3 separate regions of the Homo sapiens genome follow, and regions 1 and 2 are each linked to region 3. Evidence: promoter capture Hi-C in 16 types of primary human blood cells and fetal thymus (Javierre and others, 2016). All regions are on one chromosome and are shown on one strand. Each heading gives the region's core, a stretch centred on a gene start or on the middle of the fragment in contact. The rest is flanking DNA. Distances are from core to core; before and after follow the strand shown. Region 1 holds the start of DCAF15 (DDB1 and CUL4 associated factor 15). Region 2 has its middle 4.4 kb from the start of MIR1199. Region 3 holds the start of DDX39A (DExD-box helicase 39A).

The links. Contacts are between HindIII fragments. The CHiCAGO score rates a contact against its expected background, and 5 or more counts as called.
Region 1: a contact is called between the fragment with the promoter of DCAF15 here and the fragment with the promoter of DDX39A in region 3, in 3 of 17 cell types (naive CD4 T cells, naive CD8 T cells and non-activated CD4 T cells). The highest score is 7.6, in naive CD4 T cells.
Region 2: a contact is called between a fragment that was not itself captured here and the fragment with the promoter of DDX39A in region 3, in 12 of 17 cell types (total CD8 T cells, naive CD8 T cells, M0 macrophages and 9 more). The highest score is 10.5, in total CD8 T cells.

Annotation. Positions count from the first base shown.
Region 1 is chr19:13,951,215-13,954,024 of GRCh38, reverse strand. It overlaps DCAF15 (DDB1 and CUL4 associated factor 15), which reads right to left and starts at 1,516. Exons shown (of 13, transcript NM_138353.4): 1 at 1,381-1,516. The coding sequence starts at 1,512. It also overlaps a transcript of PODNL1 not described here. RefSeq lists a silencer at 1,294-1,433 and an enhancer at 2,094-2,143. The HindIII fragment of the contact is 10,644 bases long and covers 1-2,036 here.
Region 2 is chr19:14,076,393-14,079,105 of GRCh38, reverse strand. No RefSeq gene overlaps it. Among named protein-coding and RNA genes, the nearest start is that of MIR1199, 4.4 kb to the right of the region's middle. The HindIII fragment of the contact is 1,703 bases long and covers 471-2,173 here.
Region 3 is chr19:14,417,791-14,420,590 of GRCh38, reverse strand. It overlaps DDX39A (DExD-box helicase 39A), which reads left to right and starts at 1,250. Exons shown (of 11, transcript NM_005804.4): 1 at 1,250-1,321. RefSeq lists a silencer at 1,421-1,520 and enhancers at 1,641-1,780, 2,191-2,250, 2,621-2,670. The HindIII fragment of the contact is 5,494 bases long and covers 136-2,800 here.

The DNA of each region.
Region 1 (2,810 bases), core at 267-2,766, 470 kb after region 3:
CCCACGCTGGGCCACCTGCTTCCCTCCCTGAAGGCTGTCCCTAAGCTGTGGGTATTTATCCTACTAAGGAGGCTGGGACAGAGTCCTGACCTGCACCCATCTGTTCCCAACCCACCAGCCTTCAAACAAGGGGGCTCCTCCTCCCCGGGGCAGCTCTGGCCTCTGCTGGGGGCCAGTCGAGGCAGATAGAAGGGTGAGCCTAACCAATGACCCAACGCCCCCTTCCCAATTAACTACCGCCTTCCAACGGAATCCAAGGGAATCCCTCATCCCCAAAACTTCACCGCGGAAGGATCTGCGGGGACTGACAGGCAGAAGCCAGGCACAGGGATATCCGAACAGCCTCAGTCTTGCTACCCAACTCTGCCTTCAAGACATTCCAATCTGATGGGAAGAGTCCTGTCTGGGAAGCTCCCTGTCTGATGGGAGACAGCCCTGTCCACATGGAGGTCTCAGTCTGACGGAGGAAACAGCCTGGCCAGCCAGGCCCAGGCCGACAGGGGAGACACAGTCCCTGCCCAAGGAGCTTCCAAGCTAAGGGCGGAACCACAGCCAAGCCCAGGGAGCTCCCAGGCTAAGGGCGGAGACTGTCCCAGCCCAGGGAGCTCCCAGTCAAAAGGGGGAGACACAGCACTGCCCTTACAAAGCTACCAGCCTCACGGAGAAGGCGCAGTCCCTGTCCACAGAGACACAGCCTTGCCCCAGTTACTGCCCACCTGCAAGAGATCCACATTTCTGCCCTCCAGAGCTCCCAAACTGATGGGGGAGAGAGACATCATCCCCCAGCTCTGGGAGTTTCCAGTCTGATGGAGGAGACAGAGCCTGCTTCGGTAACTCTCACTCTGCGGGGGAAGACTCAGCCCTATCCAGGGAGCTCCCACACTTTCAATGGGGAGGCCCACCCAGGTACTGGAACTCCCAGCTCATGTGTGGTCGGGGCTTGGGCAGGGAGAGGAACATCAGGCGGAGGAAGCCCAAAGCCAGCGGCAGGGGCTCTGCAAAGGGGGCGGGAAGGTTCCATTATGGAGCAACCATGGGAGCAGAGCTTTGAAAAGCCTGGATCGCCCCCTTCCTCCTGATTCTCCCTGCGGCCTCTGGGGTCGCCTCCCTCCGAGCCCCCTCCCTGGGGCCCCGCCCCCAACCCCCTCCATCCCAGCCCCTTTGCCGGTCACCCGACACAACCACCTGCATCCAGGCCCCCAACTGAGCCCCCTCCATCCAAGCCATCTCCCCCGGGCCCCGCCCAGGCCCTGCATCCGAGCCCCCTCCCCTGGGGCCCCGCCCCCAACCCCTCACCCCGCGAACGCCCTCCTCCCTCCGCCTCCCTCGTCCCTACTCCCCACCCTCCGGCGCGCTCCCCACTCCGGCTCCAGGCCTCACCTTGACCCGCTCCAGCTGCTTGAGGACGTGCTCCCGCCGCCGCCCTGCTGCCCGCTTCCCTCCGGCTCCCCCGGGGCCGCCGCCGCCGCTCCCAGCCCCGCTGTTCCGCTCCGATTTCGAGCTGGGCGCCATTTTCACCCCCTCCCTCCACTTCCGGAGCAACCGGCCCCTTCGCCCCACCCCTGCCGCCTCCTCATTGGTCCTTTTTCGGGACAGCGGCCCGCCGGTTGGGCGAAAGCCCGCACTCGCGCTATGCCTGTCCATCAAAGCCATCTCGACTCTTGATTGGTAGCGACAGTAACAGCCCCCGCGGCCCGTTGCCGTATTCCCGCCCCGCCTTAAGGACGTACCACTCGGAGGTCCCGTTTGTTCGCCCTGCCCAGATAACTTTGATCTGATAGGTGAATATCTCTGTCTGTCTCAACGGCGTCACGCCCCCTGTGGCTGGCGGGTTTCCATGGAGACCACAGGCGGTCCAGGCCCTTGGGCGGGGCGACGGGAGCCTGTGGTCCACCAAGGCTCGAGAATCCTCAGCCCCGGGCTGCCCGCGCCCGGTCCAGGTGGGCAAAGGCCTGACGAGCATACTTGGGCGGCAGAGCCAGGCCGAGGAAAGAGATTTACAAAAAAGGAAAAAACGATGGGATTCGATGAAAGCTTGTTTCCGATGGGCGGGTTGGTGGGATGATGGTGGTGATAATGATAGCATCAATCATGGATCGCTCCACATGTGACAGACACGGTTCTGAGCTTAAACAGTTCGATGTGGCAGGGCCCTGTTGTGCCAATTATGCAGATCATAGCAATAAAAATAATTGTTGAAGGTCCGCTCCGTGCATCATATTCGTATACATTACCTCATTTATTTTATTTTTTTAGACAGAGTCTCACTTTGTCACCCAGGCTGGAGTGCAGTGGCGTGATCACGGTTCACTGCAGCCTCGACCCCGGGCTCAGATGATCCTCTCACCTCAGCCTCTCATGTAGCTAGGACTACAGGCGTGCGCCACCACGCCTGCCTAATTTTTTGTATTTTTAGTAGAGACGAGGTTTCACTATGTTGGCCAGGCTGGTTGCGAACTCCTGACCTCAGGTGATCCGCCCGCCTAGGCCTCCCAAAGTGCTGGAATTACGGGCATAAGCCACCGCGCCCGGCCTAATTTTTTGTATTTTTTGTAGGGACGGAGTTTCACCAAGTTGTCCAGGCTGGTCTCCAACACCTGGGCTCAAGTGATCCTCCCACCTCTGCTTCCCAAAGTGTTGGGAGGACAGGTGTGAGCCCCCACCCCTGGCCAGCCCATTTAATCCTCTGAACAATCTAGAAGATAGTTTTTTTTTATTGTCTTCATTAAAAAAATTTTTTTTGTAGAGATGGGGTCTCACTATGTTGCCCAGGCTGCTCGAAAACTCCTGACCTCAAGGGATCATCCCGT
Region 2 (2,713 bases), core at 73-2,572, 340 kb after region 3:
AAAAAAAAGCCAGATGCAGTGGCTCACACCTGTAATCCCAGCACTTTGGGAGGCCGAGGCAGGCAGATCATGAGGTCAGGAGTTTGAGACCAGCCTGGCCAACATGGCGAAACCCCATCTCTACTAAAACTACAAAAATTAGCCGGGCATGGTGGCAGGTGCTGGTAATCTCAGCTACTCTGGAGGCTGAGGCAGGAGAACCGCTTGAGCCCAGGAGATGGAGGTTGCAGTGAGCCGAGATCGTGCCATTGCACTCCAGCCTGGGCAACAAGAGCAAGACTCCATCTCAAAAAAAAAAAAAAAAAAAAAAAGGAAAAGAAATCTAGCATTTCACATTTACAACATATCTCAATTCAGACTAGCCACAAGCAGCTCTAGACGGTCTCCTTTAAGTCAAATCCACTGTCTCTTAAGACAGGGTTTCGGGTGGGTGGTGACAGTACAGTACTGGAAGGGGAAGGAAACAAGCTTTGTTTCCTGGGTCCTGTTGCTGAGCAGCTTTCTACACCCTTGATTCTCAAACTTCCTAGTGTGCATCAGAATCACATGGAGAGTTTGATCATTAAGTCTGGGATGAGACCCAAGAAAGTGCTTTTTTTTCTCTCTCTCTTTTTTTTTTTTGGTAGAGACTTTGTCTTGCTATATTGCCCACACTGGTCTTGAACTCCCAGACTCAAGCAATTATCCCACCTCAGCCTCCCAAAGTGCTGTGATTATAGGCATGAGCCACCACACCTGGCCCCTGGAAGGCGCATGTCTAGCAATTCCCCAAGCATTGCGGATACTGCTGGTCCTGGTGCCACTACATTGAGAACTGCTGGTTTATATTTACTTCATGGTTCTCAGACTCAGCTGTATATTGTAATCACCTGGGAGCTTCAAAAAATACTGATGTCAAGCCCTTCCCCCATTCTGATTTACTTGACATATGGGGGCCTCAGTTGAGTTTAATATTCAGAAAAGTTAGAGAATCCCTCATCTATACTTAAGTAGTCCTGTCCACTCTTTTTTTTTTGGAGATGGAGTCTCGCTCTGTCACCCAGGCTGGAGTACAGTGGTGCAATCTCAGGGCTCACTGCAACCTCTGCCTCCTGGGTTCAAGTGATTCTCCTGCCTCAGTCTCTTGAGTAGCTTGGACTACAGGCATGCGCCACCATGCCTGGCTAATTTCTTGATTTTTAGTAGAGATGGGGTTTCTCCATGTTGGCCAGGCTGATCTCGAACTCCTGACCTCAGGTGATCCACTCGCCTTAGCCTCCCAAAGTGCTGGGATTACAGGCATGAGCCACTGCACCAGGCCTAATTTTTGTATTTTTAGTGGAGATGGGTTTTCACCATGTTGGCCAGGCTGGTCTCAAACTCCTGACCTCAGGTGATCCACCCACCTTGGCCTCCCAAAGTGCTGGGATTACAGGCATGAGCCACCATGCCCGGCCCCTGTCCACTCATGACATACTTAGTTCTTGGCTCCCCTGCTGGAAATTAAGACCAGCCTCTAGGTGTTTCCATTTTCCACCTTCCCAGGCTCTCTCCGCCTTTCTCTACATAGCTCCCACAGTCACAGTGAAGTATGCTGAGGATGGGGTCACTGGGCTGAGGATGGGGTCAGCTGATGAGCCCTTCATGGGCTGAGCTGCTCTTGGGTGCAGCCTTGTATCAGCATGACCTCTCTGTATTTTATGCATATGGATTTCACTAGACATTTGATGCCCCTATACAAGAGACAGAGTTGGACAGAGCCAAGAATTTGTTTTTGTTTAAGACAGAGTTTCGCTCTGTCACCCAGGCTGGAGTGCAGTGACACGATCTCAAGAGCCAAGAGTTGAAACAGCGATTCTAAAATGTTCCTGGGTTGGGTGTGGTGGTTCACACCTGTAGTCCCAGCTACTCAGGAGGCTGAGGCAGGAGGATCACTTGAGCCCAGGAGATCAAGGTTACAGTAAGCTGTGATCATGCCACTGCACTGCAGCCTGCGTGACAGAACAAGACTTGTCTCCAAAATTGAAAACATTTTTAAATTTAAACTTCCTGGGTCTCCCCTTTTCTGGTCTTAGTGAATTTTTTTTTTTTCTTAGGTTACAGATCTCACTCTCACCCAGGCTGGAGTGCAGTGGTTCAATCATAGCTCACTGTAGCCTCAACCTCCCAGGCTCAGGCGATCTCCTGCTAAGCTTCCAGAGTAGCTGGGACCACAGGCACATGCCACCACACCCGGTTAATTTTTTGTAGAGATGGGGTGGGGCAGTGTCTCGCTATGTTGCCCAAGCTGGTCTTGAACTCCTGGGATCAAGCAATCCTCCTGCCTTGGCCTCCCAAAGTGCTAGAATTACAGGCATGAGTCACCATGTCTGGTCCTCAGTGCACTTCTTTTTTTTTTTTTTAATATGGAGTCTTGTTCTGTCACCCAGGCTAGAGTGCAGTGGTGCAATCTCGGGTCATTGCAACCTCCACCTCCCGGGTTCACGCCATTCTCCTGCCTCAGCCTCCTGAGTAGCTGGGACTACAGGCACCCACCACCACGCCCGGCTAATTTTTTTTTTTTTTTTTGTATTTTTAGTAGAGATGGGGTTTCACCATATTAGCCAGGATGGTCTTGATCTCCTGACCTCGTGATCCACCTGCTTTGGCCTCCCAAAGTGCTGGGATTACAGGCGTGAGCCACCGCGCCAGGCCCTCAGTGCACTTCTAAGACACTGTAAAAATAGTCCCAGAA
Region 3 (2,800 bases), core at 1-2,500:
CTTTACCAAATTTTTAAAAATTAGCTGGGCATGATAGGTAACAAGAGTGACACCCTGAAGAAAGAAAGAAGAAAGTGGAGGGAAAGAGGGAGGAAGGATGATAGGAAAATAAATCTGCCAGGATCTAATAAAGCTTAGTGACCATGCCACCATGCCACTCCTAAGTATTTAAAAGAAATGAAAATTTATCTTCCCCAAAATACTCTTACAGTACAAGCTCTATTAACAGTGGCCAAAGACCGGAAACAATCAATTGGCCAAGAACAGGTGAGTGAAACTATATTGGCTACATTATAGTATAGCCACACAATGAAATACCACTCAGCAGTAAAAAATAACGAGCTGTTGATATCCCCACAACATGGACAACTCTCAAAAACACTTTGCTGCGGCCAGGCAGGGTGGCTCATGTAATCCCAGCACTTTGGGAGGCGGAGATGGGCAGATCACATGAGGCCAGGAGTTCGAGACCAGCCTGGCCAACATGGCGAAACCCCTCTCTACTAAAAATATGAAAATTAGCCAGGTGTGGTGGCGGGCGCCAGCAGTCCCAGCTACTCAGGAGGCTGAGGCAGGAGAATCGCTTGAACCCGAGAGGCGGAGGTTGTGGTGAGCAGAGATCGCGCCACTGCACTCCAGCCTAGGTGACAGAGCCAGACTCCGTCTCAAAAAAACAGCTTTGTTGAGCAAAAGTCAGACACAAAAGACAACCTATTGCATGCTTCTACTAACGTGAAAATCAAGGAGACAAAACTATCGTGGAGCGATAGAAATCCAAATACTGCAAAATGTTCTGTCCATTTGAGTCATTCCAAGCTCCCTATTCTTTTCAGAGCCTACACTGTGGAGGACCCCCAGGCCGCAGATTGATAGCAACTGGGACAGTTCTGGTTTCAGCGCCCAGCGCAGACGCCACTCTTCGAAAAGGTGGGGCACACGCCAAAACGCAATCATCCGGTCTTCAGTTATCAGTACTAAACATGGCGGCTCCCACCGAGCACCACACCCAGATCACGAGACCGCGCGCTGTCGGAGCCAGTCTGTCGGCTCACTGGGGCGCGCCTACTTTTAGATTGACCAATAAACGCGAGGCGTAAGGCACGCCCTCTTTCTTCCCGTCTCCGCCAATAATCTCCCGGTCCCTTCCACAGGACCCAATCACCGCTTCGGCCTCTCTTGAATGAAAAGGCAGCGGCCCAGTCAGCAGAGCAGCAGCCCGACGCAAGAGGCAGGAAGCGCAGCAACTCGTGTCTGAGCGCCCGGCGGAAAACCGAAGTTGGAAGTGTCTCTTAGCAGCGCGCGGAGAAGAACGGGGAGCCAGGTGAGCAGCGGATCCCGGGCGCGGGGCCGCGGTGTGGGGACGTCTGAACTGAGAGCGAGAGGACGAGGGGAGACGTTGGGATCTAAGGGGAGGGGGAGAAAGGGTCGCGAGACGGTGGGGGCGGGGCGGTTGGTGTGTCAGAGCGCTGTGTGTTGGCCGTTGGGCACCGGGGCGCATGCGCTAGGGGTGGGCCAGCCGTTGGCGCGCGGTGCTCGGGGCTCGGGGCCCGCTTCTCGGAGGGGCTGTCATGGCCTACGGCGCTCCGAGCCCCACTTGGAGTCTGTCAGTTCGTCCGAATAGACCCCGCGGCGGCCTGGGGCCATTTGGAGAGGGACGAGGGGGTGACGCCGGGGTCTGGGGCCTGGGTGGGAGAAGTTGGAGCTTTCAGTTGTCAGGGGTTTCTTTGGGTCCGAGGGACTTGATCCCTTTCCCAGTCTACCTTCTTCTTGGTCTACTTTTTACGGGATTCGGGATTCTGAGATTTAGAGCAAATAAGACTTTATTTTGGAAGGCCGGGCGCGGTGGCTCTTGTAATCTCAGTACTTTGGGAGAGACCAAGGAGGGCGGATCACTTGAGGTCAGGAGTTCGAGACCAGCCTGGCCAACATGGTGAAACCTCGTCTCTACTCAAAATACAAAAAAAAATCAGCCGAGCGTGGTGGCGAGCGCCTGTGGTCCCAGCTACTCGGGAGGCTGAGGCACGAGAATCGCTTGAACCCGGGAGGTGGAGGTTACAGTGAGCCGAGATCGCGACACTGCACTCCAGCCTGGGTGACAGAGCGAGATTCTGCCTCAAAAAAAACAGAATGAAAAAAAGATTTTCTTTTGGAAATAGGAGTCCCCAGGTGGGAATAAACTCCGGGGTGGAAAGCCTGCCTGGGGACACTTGAGGGTAACTGGGTACACGTGGCGTGTCTGGGTTGTGAGTTCCCCGCTGTCACCTTTCAAGTTCATGCGCTCCTGGCGCCTTAGCGGTCATGGCCACCCACTTTGGGCGGGGAAAACCCCGCCGGATCCTTTCCTGATCTAATCAGTTTTGAGCTTTAGATCCTGTCCAGCCCGGTTTCTCGAAAATTTTATCTTAGCAGATTCGGTTCACCCCAATTTATTTATCTCTCTCTCTCTTTTTTTTTTTTTTTTTTTTTTTTTGAGACAGAGCCTTGCTCTGTCGCCCAGGCTGGAGTGCAGTGACACTATCTCGGCTCACTGCAGCCTCCGTCTTCCGGGTTCAAGCAAGCACATCCGGCTAATTTTTGTATTTGTAGTAGAGACGGGGTTTCACCATGTTGCCCAGGCTTGTCTCTAATTCCCGACTTCAAGTGATCCGCCCGCTTCGCCTCCCAAAGTGCTGGGATTACAGGCATGAGCCACCACGCTGGGCCCCAATTTCTTTTTTTAAATTTATTTTTCTTGAGAAAGGGTCTCCCTCTGTCACCCAGGCTGGAATGCCATGGCGCCATCACTGGCAGCCTCGACCTC